Regions from separate parts of the Homo sapiens genome. Here regions 1, 3 and 4 are each linked to region 2. The links are contacts of gene promoters, found by promoter capture Hi-C in blood cells and fetal thymus (Javierre and others, 2016). All regions are on one chromosome and are shown on one strand. Each heading gives the region's core, a stretch centred on a gene start or on the middle of the fragment in contact. The rest is flanking DNA. Distances are from core to core; before and after follow the strand shown.

What was found. Contacts are between HindIII fragments. The CHiCAGO score rates a contact against its expected background, and 5 or more counts as called.
Region 1: a contact is called between a fragment that was not itself captured here and the fragment with the promoter of POMK in region 2, in 2 of 17 cell types (total B cells and naive B cells). The highest score is 5.2, in total B cells.
Region 3: a contact is called between a fragment that was not itself captured here and the fragment with the promoter of POMK in region 2, in 1 of 17 cell types (fetal thymus). The highest score is 5.1, in fetal thymus.
Region 4: a contact is called between a fragment that was not itself captured here and the fragment with the promoter of POMK in region 2, in 3 of 17 cell types (naive B cells, total B cells and M1 macrophages). The highest score is 11.0, in naive B cells.

Annotation. Positions count from the first base shown.
Region 1 is chr8:43,463,270-43,466,468 of GRCh38, reverse strand. No RefSeq gene overlaps it. Among named protein-coding and RNA genes, the nearest start is that of POTEA, 170 kb to the right of the region's middle. The HindIII fragment of the contact is 467 bases long and covers 1,592-2,058 here.
Region 2 is chr8:43,091,689-43,094,856 of GRCh38, reverse strand. It overlaps POMK (protein O-mannose kinase), which reads right to left and starts at 1,342. Exons shown (of 5, transcript NM_032237.5): 1 at 1,294-1,342. RefSeq lists a silencer at 1,105-1,314 and enhancers at 566-1,471, 1,472-2,378. The HindIII fragment of the contact is 4,326 bases long and covers 1-3,168 here.
Region 3 is chr8:42,690,733-42,693,770 of GRCh38, reverse strand. No RefSeq gene overlaps it. Among named protein-coding and RNA genes, the nearest start is that of CHRNB3, 5.1 kb to the left of the region's middle. The HindIII fragment of the contact is 2,184 bases long and covers 167-2,350 here.
Region 4 is chr8:43,442,337-43,445,658 of GRCh38, reverse strand. It overlaps the pseudogene LOC100420534. Among named protein-coding and RNA genes, the nearest start is that of POTEA, 150 kb to the right of the region's middle. The HindIII fragment of the contact is 8,326 bases long and covers 1-3,322 here.

The sequences.
Region 1 (3,199 bases), core at 576-3,075, 370 kb before region 2:
AGTAGCCAAGACAATGGGGGAAAAGTTTCAAAGGCATTTCAGAGACCTTTTGGCAGCCCCTTCCATCATAGGCCCAGAGGCCTAGGAGGAAAGAATGGTTTTGTGGGCCAGGCCCAGAGTCCCACCGCCCTGAAGATGCTGCCATGCTTCCTGTATAGCCTGCAGAACTGTGAACTAATTAAACCTATTTTCTTGATCAATTACCCAGTCTCAGGTATTTCTTTATAACAGTGTGAGCACAGACTAATATACTTTATTTCCATAAAAATTGCTTCTGCAATAGATATATGTCAAAAAGCCTAATATCCAAGACCCCACGTCACACACGACAAGAATCCAGCATACTATATGGCCTTCCACTTAGTTGCATATGCCAAATAACTAAGTAATCTATTTTCACATTAATTCTGAGTGTATATTTTTCTATGAAATTACTGATAAAAATATATTAATAAAATGTTTTATTTATATTCTTAATTTGTCATTCATCTATACTATTTACTATTCTGACTAGGTCAAATCTCTATAGAATAGGATCTATAAACTATTTTTGTAAAGGGCCAGATAGAACGTATTTTAGGCTTTGTGAGCCATTAGGCAAAATCAAATATATTATGCAGGTACCCATATAACCATTTAATGCAATTCTTAAAAATTTAATAAACCGTTCTTAGTTTGTGGTCTACATGAAAATGGTTTGTAGATGAGATTGTCTATGAGCTTTAGTTCACTGACCCCAGATAGAAAAACTTATAATAATATTTATTTCTTATTTATACATTTATTATACTTATTTTTAAATTTAAATAATGATGTTCTTTACAAGAATCAGTCTCTATAAACTCAGGAATTATATATAATCCAAACACTTAACACAGTGTTTTGTTTATAGTAAATGTTTAATAGATTTTAGTCTCTTTTCAATTTCACTACTCCTTTCCAGCTTTAGACCTTTGAGAGTGGAGGTGGGGCTTATTCATGTTTTGTTGCTAATACTCTTACAAATATTTACCCATATCAGAAGCATAGGAATGGGGTGTCTTGGAAAGATGAACAGTCACAATTAATTTTTCTTATTTTTAGAGGACACAGGCCTATGACTAGAAGCATCTTTGCATTAGTTTTGTTATCAGACATGGTGAAACTGGGATGAGGTCCATGTAAAACTACTGTCTACACAGTTTTTCCTCTATGAGAGAGCAGGAGAATTTAAATCACAATTCAACTCAAACTGCTATGCACTGATTTATATTACCTTCATTTTTTCTGGTAGGTTTCAAGTACTAAGCATTTTACTGAAGTAATATGTGTTTTACATATTTAAACTGAAAATATTATTCAATCACCATAAAACCCTGTCAACAAGGACAAGAAGACATTTCTTGTCACTTTCTCAAAAATCCCCACAGCTGCATTGTGTAGAGAGACAGGAAATTGGAAGGTGTTATATTTCAGAGGGATAGACTTTCCATCACCAAGGGAAATTAAAGTATTTCTTGAAGATTTTATATTTTAAACCAGTCTGTAATAATTAATATTAAATAATGTATTTAAGCATGTTGTCTGTGAGATGGAACATACCAATTAAGCTTGAGTGGTTGAAGGTATTCTACTGTGTTTATGACCTAATGACATTTGTATTTTAAATCATGAACTGTGAGAAGTAAATTTATGTTGTTTATAAGTCACCTAGTCCATGGTATTTTGGTATGGAAGTCCAAATGGACTAAGATGACAACCAAAATATTCTTTTTATTTATGCATTTTATTTTATTATTGGAGAATTTTTGCCGTACACTAAGTGGCCCATGACATTTACTAGAGGGGATTATTTTAGCAAGTGTAGTACCCATGAGGCCAATGTTGTGAGTTCTTTGTCAATTACTTACTTATTTTTCTTCATCTGTTTCTGAAAGTAATCCAAAAGCATTTTAAAGGCACAGAAATAATTTAAAAATTAGAAAAATTTAAAAACCTTATAGAAAATAGTGGAAATGGTTTCCATAAACCTGATGCAAGTTGGTTATTGATGTTATATTATGATTTAATTCTGAAGCTTCTGGTAGCAACAGCAAAAATAGGAAAAATAATGGGCTCTGTCATTTTATTGCCCAATAAAAATAGCTTTGGGGAAAAAAGTCCTTTTTCAGTTTTAAATTATGAGCATTTATCATTTGAATCTTTTTATGAGAGGAACTGAATAACATGATGAATATTGTTCTGCAAACACATAATCTAGTAGGTTGTTTTTATTTTTCACACCTCCAACCCCTTCTTTAAGAAAGTGCTTCTCCCTCAGCTCCAACCAAGAGGCTCCAGTGAAAGACACTGCATTCTTACTTGGTTGCAAGTCATTGGTCTAAGAGAAAAAAATCTGGTCACTTATTGTGAGTTTTTAAACTTGTTTATAAGTCACCTAGTCCGTGGTATTTTGGTATGGCAGTGCAAATGGACTAAGATGACAACCAAAATATTACTTTTATTTATGTATTTTATTATTGGAGAATTTTTGCGATACACTAAGTGGCCCATGACATTTACTAGAGGGGATTATTTTAGCAAGTGTAGTATCCATGAGGCCAATGAAGAAATCTATTTGGTTGTTCAAGTCATAGACTATAAAATTGTGAACAATAAATGTTTATATTTTCCACAATATAAATATACTGAGTGTGATAAAAATTGAGCTGGTATTCTGACAGAAACCAATCAAAGAGAGATACAGACAGCATTGTTGGCATTTGAGTCCACAGTTCAAATCCTTACAAAATTTCTTTCTTTCTTTTTTTTTTTTTTTGGAGTTGGAGTCTCGCTCAATCGCCCAGGCTAGAATGCAATGGCACGATCTCAGCTCACTGCAAGCTCTGCCTCTTGGGTTCATGCCATTCTCCTTCCTCAGCCTCCCAAGTACCTGGGACTACAGGCACCCACCACCACGCGTGGCTAATTTTTTTTGTAGTTTGTATTTTTGGTAGAGATGGGGTTTCACCATGATTGCCAGGATGATCTCGATCTCCTGACTTTGTGATCTGCCCATCTTGGCCTCCCAAAGTGCTGGGATTACAGGCATGAGCCACCACGCCTGGCCACAAAATTTCTTTTTATCATGGTTTCCCTGCTCATATTATTTAACCATTCCTGTGGGCTCTACAGACAAGTAAACTTTCCATTTGGTCTAAAGTAAATGTATTCAAAGGTT
Region 2 (3,168 bases), core at 93-2,592:
GGCACGACTGAAATGCAAAGCATTTCTGACACTGATAGGAAGGCTTATTGATAGAGAAAGGCTTGGGACCCACTGCTCCACATTTACAGCTTAAAAAGAAAAGAAAAGCAAAGGGACAAAACTAGTTTTTACCGACTTACAAGATATTTTCTACAACTAGGGAAGACACAGAGTAATGTCATCCAATACAGTTTAGAGTAGAATTCCATTGCGCCAATAAAGCACAAGGTACATTAAGAGGATTATTTTAAATATTCTGAACGCTTATTTAGCCTTAAGGTTCTATAGCAAAGGCAAAGGGTGGCAAAGACAAGATTATGCAACAAAACAGCGAAATTTTGCTTTCTAAAAAAAAGAGAATATGATTACACTTAACACCTCCTGGCAACAATGATCTCGTGCAGAATAAACACCCAAAGGCAAAGAGCTGAGACAGAGTCCTCGGTCCTTTCTGGTTTTTTTGTTTTTTGTTTTGTTTTGGTTTGGTTTGGTTTTTGTTTTTTTAAACAGAGACAGCCTCTGCCGGACCCAGTAGCTCACGCCTGTAATCCCAGCACTTTGGGAGGCAGAGGCGGGCGGATCACCTGAGGTCAGGCGTTCGAGACCAGCCTGACCAACATGGGGAAACCCCGTTTCTACTAAAAATACAAAAATTAGCCGGGCGTGGTGGCGGACGCCTGTAATCCCAGGAGCCAAGACCGCGCCACTACACTCCAGCCTGGGCGACAGAGCGAGACTCCGTCTCAAATAATAATAATAATGATAAAGTAATAATAATAGAAACAGCCTCTCACTCTGGCCCCCAGGCTGAAGTGCAGTGGCGCGATTTCGGCTCACTGAAACCTCCGCCCCCGCCGGGTTCAAGCATTCTCCCGCCTCAGCCTCCGGAGTAGATAAGACTATAGGCGGCGCCACCGCGCCCGGCTAAGTGCTTTTTTACGGAGACAGAAGTTCCGCCATGTTGCCCAGGCTGCTCTCGCCTGAGCTCACGCGATCCTCCCGCCTCGGCCTCCCAAAGCGCTGGGATTACAGGCTGGAGCCACCTCGCCGGGCCCTTCTCTGGTTCTTTAACGTCCCGCTACCGCGCAGGGGTGGACGCGGAGATAGGGGCTGGGCGCGGTGGACACGGCCGCTCAGGCCCAGCGCAGCCTCCTAGGGAGCCTCCGGACAGGCCGCGGGCAGGCGGCCGGGGCTGCGGGGGGTGCGGCCCAGGCCACGTACAGGGTCCCCCGGGAAACCCAGCTGCACGCCCCCTCGCCCCTTCGCCCTCTCACCCCTCGCCGCAGCACCTACCTGCAGCCCAAGCCTCTGCGGCTCCTGCCACCCCGGGCCAGCACGCACTGGGCCTACTGCGCTTGCGCGTTCGGAAGCGCGTCCTGGGCGGGTGAGCGTGGCGCTGCTGCCCCCTGGCGTCCTCCTCCGGCCGTGCACTGAAGCCGGAGCGAACGCCGCGGCGGTACCAGCGCGCACCTACCCAGTCTCCCTGTCTGGCTTCTGCTTCCCTAACTTGGGAGAACGATTTTGTGTTGACCGACTATTGCTTCAGCCTGGAGCCAGGCTCATGCAGAGCAGCTGTCAGATCTAGACGCACTGCGAGGCCTTCCAAAGCGTAGTCCTCAGACCCGCGGCATCTGCAGGGACCTTGCTGGAAAGGCTGATTCCCAGCTCCGGCCCAGACCCGCCACTCGGGGACCCAGATGCCTGAAGTTGGACAATCGCTCTGTAAAAGAAACTGTGGGGCTTAGCCTAGACGCAGTAAAGCTGAGCTGCACACATCAAGCGCAGCAGACAAGACCTTGGCAAGCCTCCGCGGAGGGGCAGGACTGGGCAAAGGCGGGGAAGTCCGTCGAGGGCCGGCCAGGAGCCCTGCCGGGAGCCCAACACGCACTCGGGCGCTTGCTCCGGGAAACCGAAAGGGAGGCTTGCAGCATCGAAGTCAGCTGGGTCATGGAACGTCTAGGTTGTGTACATCGGAAGCGTTAGCTGCTTCTACACTGACACACTGCGAAAGTCCAGAATCAAGACAGTAACATGGTGTGGGTTAAAAAAACTGAGCCGGTACTAGCTATCCAAACAGTATTAAAATTAACAGAAACGTTTGCCTATCACATGGACAAACAGCGGTAATACCTCCTGTCGTTACAGTAGAGTCTGAAAGTTTCCTCACACATACAAGTGAGTGTAAATTGGAATTCCTCCTACGTGCCCTAGCAAATCCATTTCTAGGAATTTATCCTTCAGAAATAACGTCTGTGGCCGGGCGCCGTGGCTCATGCCTGTAATCCCAGGACTTTGGGAGGCCGAGGTGGGCGGATCACGAGGTCAGGAGACCGAGACCATCCTGGATAACACGGTGAAACCCCGTCTCTACTAAAAATACAAAAAATTAGCCGGGCATGGTGGCGGGCGTGAGAATGGCGTGAACCCGGGAGGCGGAGCTTGCAGTGAGCCGAGATCGCGCCACTGTACTCCAGCCTGGGTGACAGAGCGAGACTCCGTCTCAAAAAAAAAAAAAAAAAAAAAGAAAAAGAAATAATATGTCTGCAAGATGTATGCACAAGAGATCTTGCTGAAGCATTGCTGATAAAAGATATTTATAATAGAGAAAAAAAGAAACCTGAATGTATAACAATAGGGGTTTCTGAAAGAAATTATATTACATCCACATAGCCATGAAAAATACTAACGGGTGCACAGTTTCAGTGTGAGAAGATGGTAAAGTCCTGGAGATGGATGGGGGTGATGGTTGCACAACAGTGTGAATATACACCAATAAATTGGGTGGAGGCCGAGAGCTCGGGGCCGTGAGCAAGCCTCCAACGCTCCGGTCCCCCGGACCCGCCTTTTAAACTCTTATTCTAATTCCTTTGTCTTCGCTGGACTCGGGGTACCCGCCGGGTGGTGTGGGGCTGGTTTCCCCAACAACTTCACTCTAGCCTGGGCAAAAGAGCAAAGCTCCGTCTCAAACAAACAAAGATAGAAACCAACCAGCAGCTCTCCTTGCTGAGTTCTTTGCCACGTGGCCACCATTTTGTGCCCACAGGCTTTTTGGGGGTGCTGGGAAAAGGTGAAATTTTAACACTGATGAAAAATTAGAGGAATTAAATTCAAACAAAAAATTAAAAATAAAAAGAACAGCAGAATTTGACGCACCATCAAACTGGTTGT
Region 3 (3,038 bases), core at 9-2,508, 400 kb after region 2:
CAGGAGAATCGCTTGAACCCGGGAGGTGGAGGTTGCAGTGAGCCAAGATAGCGCCATTTGCACTCCAGCCTGGGGGACAAGAGCGAAACTCTGTCTCAAAACAAAACAAAAACAAAAAACAAAAAAAAACAAGTCTAAGGGAACTGTCTTTCCTCTATAAAAAGCTTACTTGTGAGTTACCTGCTCCTCACCAACACCTGGGGAGGTGAAGTCACAGTGAGGTGGGGGCGGGATTGGGGCTGGGACCACACCTCCCACAGCCCAGTGCTCTCACCGTCTCTGTACCATGATACTTAATAAGCAATCCCACTAACCAGAGTGTGCCAGTTTATCATGGAGAGAACACACTCCCTGCCTTCTGGAGGTCCATGAGCTCCCCCTTCCTCAGTCACCCATCAGGGTTTACCAGTGCTCCCTTCCTCGGGGCCTTCCTTATGTCTAACCTCAGTCATTCCTGCTGTAGCCTGCCTGGCTCTAAGCCAGCCAGCATTTCAAATACTCCGATCCTCTTCTCACTACCAGTAGGGAGGTTTTGTGGGAGGGAGCAGGGATGCTGTCAGCGTTCACAGGATTCAGAAGGTCTGGATTCAGGATCCAAAGTATCTGAATTTGAAATTCTCACTGCCCTCCTAAATAACCTCTCATCTCTTGATGCCTAAAATTTCACTCTAGAGGTAATTGTTTTGGTTTAAATCTTATTACATCCACCACTGGGCAGGATAACACTTTAATCCAATCAGCCAACCCTTTTTCTTCCTGGGCTCTATCCACACAAATGACATTTTTTCAATAGCCACACCTCTCACTATTGGTAGAGATGGGAAAACCATGGCTTTTATTTTTTAGGCAGAGACAGGGCCTTGCCATGTTGCCCAGGCTGGTCTTGAACTCCTGAGCTCAAGAGATCCTTCCACCTCGCCCTCCCAAAGTGCTGGGATTACAGGCGTGAGCTACCGTACCCGGCTTTTAAATAAGTGTCCAATTCTTTCCTGGGATCAGACCTCAGAAGCCGCAGGCTCCTGGACGCGCTGCACGGCCTCCCTGGGCTGGGCCTTGCGGGGGCCTTAGACCAGGGTGAGTTGTGGGGCTCGGGTGCCCTCTGGTGGCTCACTCCTCACACTGCAGGCCTTTAACCTTTAAAGGGTGTGTGCTTCAGACGGTATTTGCTCCTCAAATTTTAAATAAAAAGGTAGTAACAGCCCGAGTAAATCACAAACTAAGCACTGGAAGGCAATGGGCTGTTGGTTTAACAGCTCTGCCCTTCCACGTACCGCTTGCCAGGAGGGCAGCACAAACCCAGAAGAGCTGTAGCCGAGAAGGCCCGCGCGTTCCTCAAAGGGGAGAGTTGGTGCCCGGGACCCAGCTGGAATCAATCGCTGGGCCGCAGCCCGGGGGAACCCAGGTGTGCGCGGGAAGAAGCGTTCGAACAGAAAGAAACCGTCTAAATGGATCACATGAGCAGCGTTTCCCAAACCTCCCTGTGCTTCCCAACCATCTGGCGAGCTTTCAAGAAACACGAATTCGGCTGGGCGCGGTGGCTCACACCTGTAATCGCAGCACTTTGGGAGGCCGAGGCAGGCAGATTACCTGAGGTCAGGAGTTCGAGACCAGCCTGGCCGACATGGTGAAACCCCGTCTCTACTAAAAATACGAAAATTAGCCGGGCATGGTGGTGGGCGCCTGTAATCCCAGCTACTCGGGAGGCCGAGGCAGGAGAATCGCTTGAACCCGGGAGGCGGAGGTTGCAGGTGAGCCGAGATCGCACCACTGGCGACAGAGCGAGAGTACGTCTCAAGAAAGAAGAAAGGAAAGAAAGAAAGGAGGGAGGGAAGGAAGGAAAGAAAGAGAAAAAGACGAATTCCTGGTTGTTTTCCACTGCAATTCTGATCCGGTGGTCTGGAACAGGGCCTGGGCTCTCTGAGAGCAGCCAGGGTCCCAGACCCTGACCGCGCTGGCCGCCTTTTCCAAGTGAAACCTCCGCAAAGACCAGGAGGAAAGGCTTAGTGGCCGCAGGGCCCGATCACACTGAAGCACCATGTGCCAGGAGGGTGCCCGTGACCAGGAAGATCCCGGAGATATGGGGGGCACTGGGAGGGGCGCGGAGTGCAGCACGGGACCCCTGGTTGAAGAGGGGCGCCTCGCCTCTCCTTTCATCCTTCAGTCGTTGTTTCTTTTTTGAGGCTTCCCCTCATCTTGTCTGACTGACAGGAGCGTCCACACTTTGTCCTCGCCGCCGCCACCGTTCCTCAGGGCTGCAGCCTGGTCGGAGGACCAGGAAGTGTCCTGCTCAGACTGGCCAGGCACTAAAGTCTGCTTTTCCACCACGATAGGCTTTGGGTTTGAAGAAGCTTTGTCCCAGCAACTCTGGGTGCGGATGGGCCAAACAGGCTGCGGGTGTATTGGGCTTCTGGCCCCGGTCAGCCACCCCAGTGTCCACAGCAGATGGACGCCCAGAGCTGAGGGGACAGAGGGCTGCCATCAAACTGCTGGGGCCACGTCTGTAAATCAGAGCAAAGGCAATCCCTGGGCAAGGAGTAGGGGCTGAATCTGATCCCTGAGCAAGGAGTAAGGGCTGAATTTGAAAGATCAGCCTCGGGACTGCTGAACTAAGAACAGTGTGGGGAGGAAGATCAGGAGGGAGCAGAGAAGGACAGGCCTGGGATCCCCCCACCCCCCAACAAACCCTGCTGGAAGCTCAAAGCGCTGCTTTATTGAAGGCCAGACTGGTGGTGTGTGGGTGCCTTGCCCTGATTAACAGCACTGGGGTCGACTGCAGGTAATGAGTCAGTAATTAACATCTATAAAAAGACTGTGTCCTATGCAAAGGACACTGGCCTAAGAATCCGGAACTCTGAGCTTGCCTCTTAATAATTGTGTGACCTTAGACAACCTTTTGTGGCATCAGACTCCTCGCCTATCGTGGAGAGAAGCTGGATTAGATCCGCTGTTCTTCATCCTGGCTGCTCACTGCTCTTGGGAAGCTTCTAGAAAGTACTAATGTCTGGGCCTTGCACCTGGACATACTGATTTCATTGGTC
Region 4 (3,322 bases), core at 675-3,174, 350 kb before region 2:
GGGGTATGCAAGAGTCTTCTTCACCATATTTTCCTTAATTTTGTTTTTATGCTGCAGGCCCTGAGATATGGGCTGGGGCCTTGTCTCTACTCCGGGCTCTGGTGCATTTCAGCCCTTTGGAAGGTGGGAGCCTGAGGCAGGTCTGCAGAAGATACTGTAGGGTCAAAATCTCTGCTTTAAGCTAGTTTTGACTTGAGGTTTTCCAAAAAGGTAGGGCATTTGCAAGAATGTGGGGCAGAAAAAAAATTAGAACTCTATCTCTGTAACTATATATGTGACTTTTGTAGCCATGGCTAAAGGGTAAGAACCACAAAGAATATCAAATGTGGTAAAGGTAAAAGGAACTCAGATGCTGAGATTGTTCCCACTCCACTTTTAGAGTAAAAGGCATTAGGGAACAAGGAAAAGAGTATTTTTGGGCGTAATGGTTATGTAAACAAAAATTTCAGTGATCTCAGCAATTTTTTTTGTTTCAGTTGTGAGGCAAATGTTTATTATGGCAAACCTCTGTAACTATTTTCAAACATGCAACAAAAGTTTAGTTTTGAAAACTGCCTTTATTATGAAGGTAGTGAGACAGAATTTTTTTTTTTTTTTTTTTTTTTTGAGACAGAGTCTTGCTCTGTCACCCAGGCTGGAGTACAGTGGTGTGACCTCGGCTCATTGTTACCTTCCTCTCCAAGAATCAAGCGATTCCCAGGCCTCAGACTCCCAAGTAGCTGGGATTACTGGCGTGAGCCACCATACCATGCAAATTTTTGTATATTTAGCAGAGATGGGGTTTCACCATTATTGGCCAGGCTGTTCTCAAACTCCTGACCTCAACTGATCTGCCCCTCCTCAGCCCCCTAAAGCGCTGGGATTACAGGTGTGAGCCACCATGCCTGGCCAAGACAGAAAATACTAATAGGCATGATGTTTGTTTTGGTAAATGTGTGTGTCTTTTTATTATTTTAACAAAGTTTTATTTTTTACATGGGGTTGCAGAAGTAAAGATGAGGTTAGTGTGGGAAAAAAAATTTTTAAACATATTTGATATGTCATATCACTGGTGGTAGTTTTTAAAGTCCAATGTTGACTTTATAAAAGTGTTTGTAACACTCTTTTAGTGTTAAAGTTATAAATTGATTATGGGTCTTTGCAAATATAAATAATGTTCATAAAAAAAATAAAAACACCTTTTTCTTGCTCCAGAGCTATACCATCAGGTAGATTAAAAGAAAATTTTTCTTACCTTCAATACAGAGGCTATCTCAAAAATAGATTCACAATCTAGGTTTACTTCACCTCCAGAATTTAATTTCTCATTTTCTGCAGGATTTTAAACTGGCTGCTTTCCTGAAGACACCTTTGGTGAGGGGTCCTTTTTGATTAAGAAAGAAAAGTACATCCAATAGGGAAACAAAGGAAATAAGCAAAATGGCATTTCACACATACAGACAAGGGAATACTTATCCTTTTTGGCACATACTTACCCCCTTTGGCTACCAGAGGCTATGGGGTTGTGCTAGGGTAAAAGTACTAAAAGATTGGGACTAAAAGAACAGCTAGAAAGATTCAAGTCAATTTTTTTGGGGAGCGCAATGGTGGTTACCAGGGGCTGGGGTGGTGGTGAGGTTGGGGAGATATTGGTCAAAGGATACAAAAGTTCAGTTAGATAGCAGAAGTAAGGTCAGGTGCTCTATTAAATAACATGATTACTATACTCAATAACAAGGTACTGCATTTCTAAAAATGGCTAAGAGAGTGGATTTTAAGTGTTCTCTAATTTTGCTTTCTTTGTATCAGTATGTCCTCTGCTTACAGTGCAGGAAGAGAATGGGTTTTGGAGACAAGCAATCTGTAGGATTTAAAACCTAGTTAGGCCACTTAGCTACTATGTATCCTTGAGTAAAGTACTGAGGCTTTTGAAAACACAGACCATGAAGTAGAGATGGTGACATAGTAAGAACCACCTCCTACGTTTGCTGTGAAGGATAAATAATAAGGTGGCTAGATGAGTGTCTGGCACTTATAGATGAACAATATAGCATTAAATGCCACACATCTAGTATAACACCTGAAGGATAATGAATACTCAATAAATGCTGCTTAGTAGTGATTCTTTAATATGTCAACTGGAAATAACTCAGTGGTTTTCATCTGACCCATTCTACAGACAAAAGATAAATGAATGCCAGGGAACGTACCTTTATGCTTAAGTACTTGACATATAAATAATAAAAGTTTTTAAAACTTAAGCATAACATTGAGTAGTCTCTGCTGCTACACTGATAAAAGAGGACTTTCATAACAATGTGGAGTTGAAGAAAGGATTTGTGTGAGAGAATGTGAATTCTCTGTCTAAAGAGAAAATTCTAATTTATCTGAGTAGGTTTATGTGGGTCTTTCCTGAAATCAGGAAACTATATGATCTCTCCCTATATGTCTTCCTTATGATTCTACAGTAGTTAAATCAGATTTTTAGCCAAAGACAGTGGCGTCTATAATTTTTCCATTTGGTGACATATTTACCTCTCAGAGCTCTCCTTTCCCAAACCCCCTTTCCCATTAGCTAACAGGTCAAGTGAGCCTTACCAGGACAGGTTTGAGCAGATTGTCATTCTCACACATATTTGGCAGAGAAACTCCAAAGAGCTGTCCAGGCATAGGTGATGTTGATGGTGCAGACACATTGTCCAGGCAAGTGCTAGAACCCCAGCAACAGCCCCAGTTTATGATAGATCCTCTTCTTTTAAATGTCTTCTGACCTGAGTCTAAGGAAGAAGTGAGCTTATTACAAAACCTAGTTTAATTCACTTAACCTTATTTCTATAACTTCCATTTTATGGCATGTTTGTTGCTATGGCTAAAAGAGGAAAAAGAATGCTTGTAGATGGCTTTTGTTATTGACAATTCAACATATAATATTTCACTAAAATATCTTACCAATGAAAGAAAAATCAATGAAGGAAGAATCAAATGTTTGGGTTCTTCTCCCATCAACTTTTGGAACATCACTGGTTTGTCTGAGTTTTGGCACTACAATTTCAAAGGTGAAGAAAAAAGACTCCCTTACTGATCTTTAACAATTTAAAGCAAAAAACATTTCATAATGACACATATATGTTTCCCCATTTTAAAGATGAGACTAAGCATACAAAAAAAGTTTAAATGAGACTATAATTAGTGAGAAAAAGAAAGTGAGAAGAGAGGAGGGACAAAGGAAGATAAAGGGGGAAGGGTAAGTAGGAGGAAGAGGACAAGATGAAAAAAGGAGGAAGAAAAAGGAAGAAGGAAGAGGAGGAAGAAGAAAGAGGAAAAATAACGAGGAGAAGGGAAA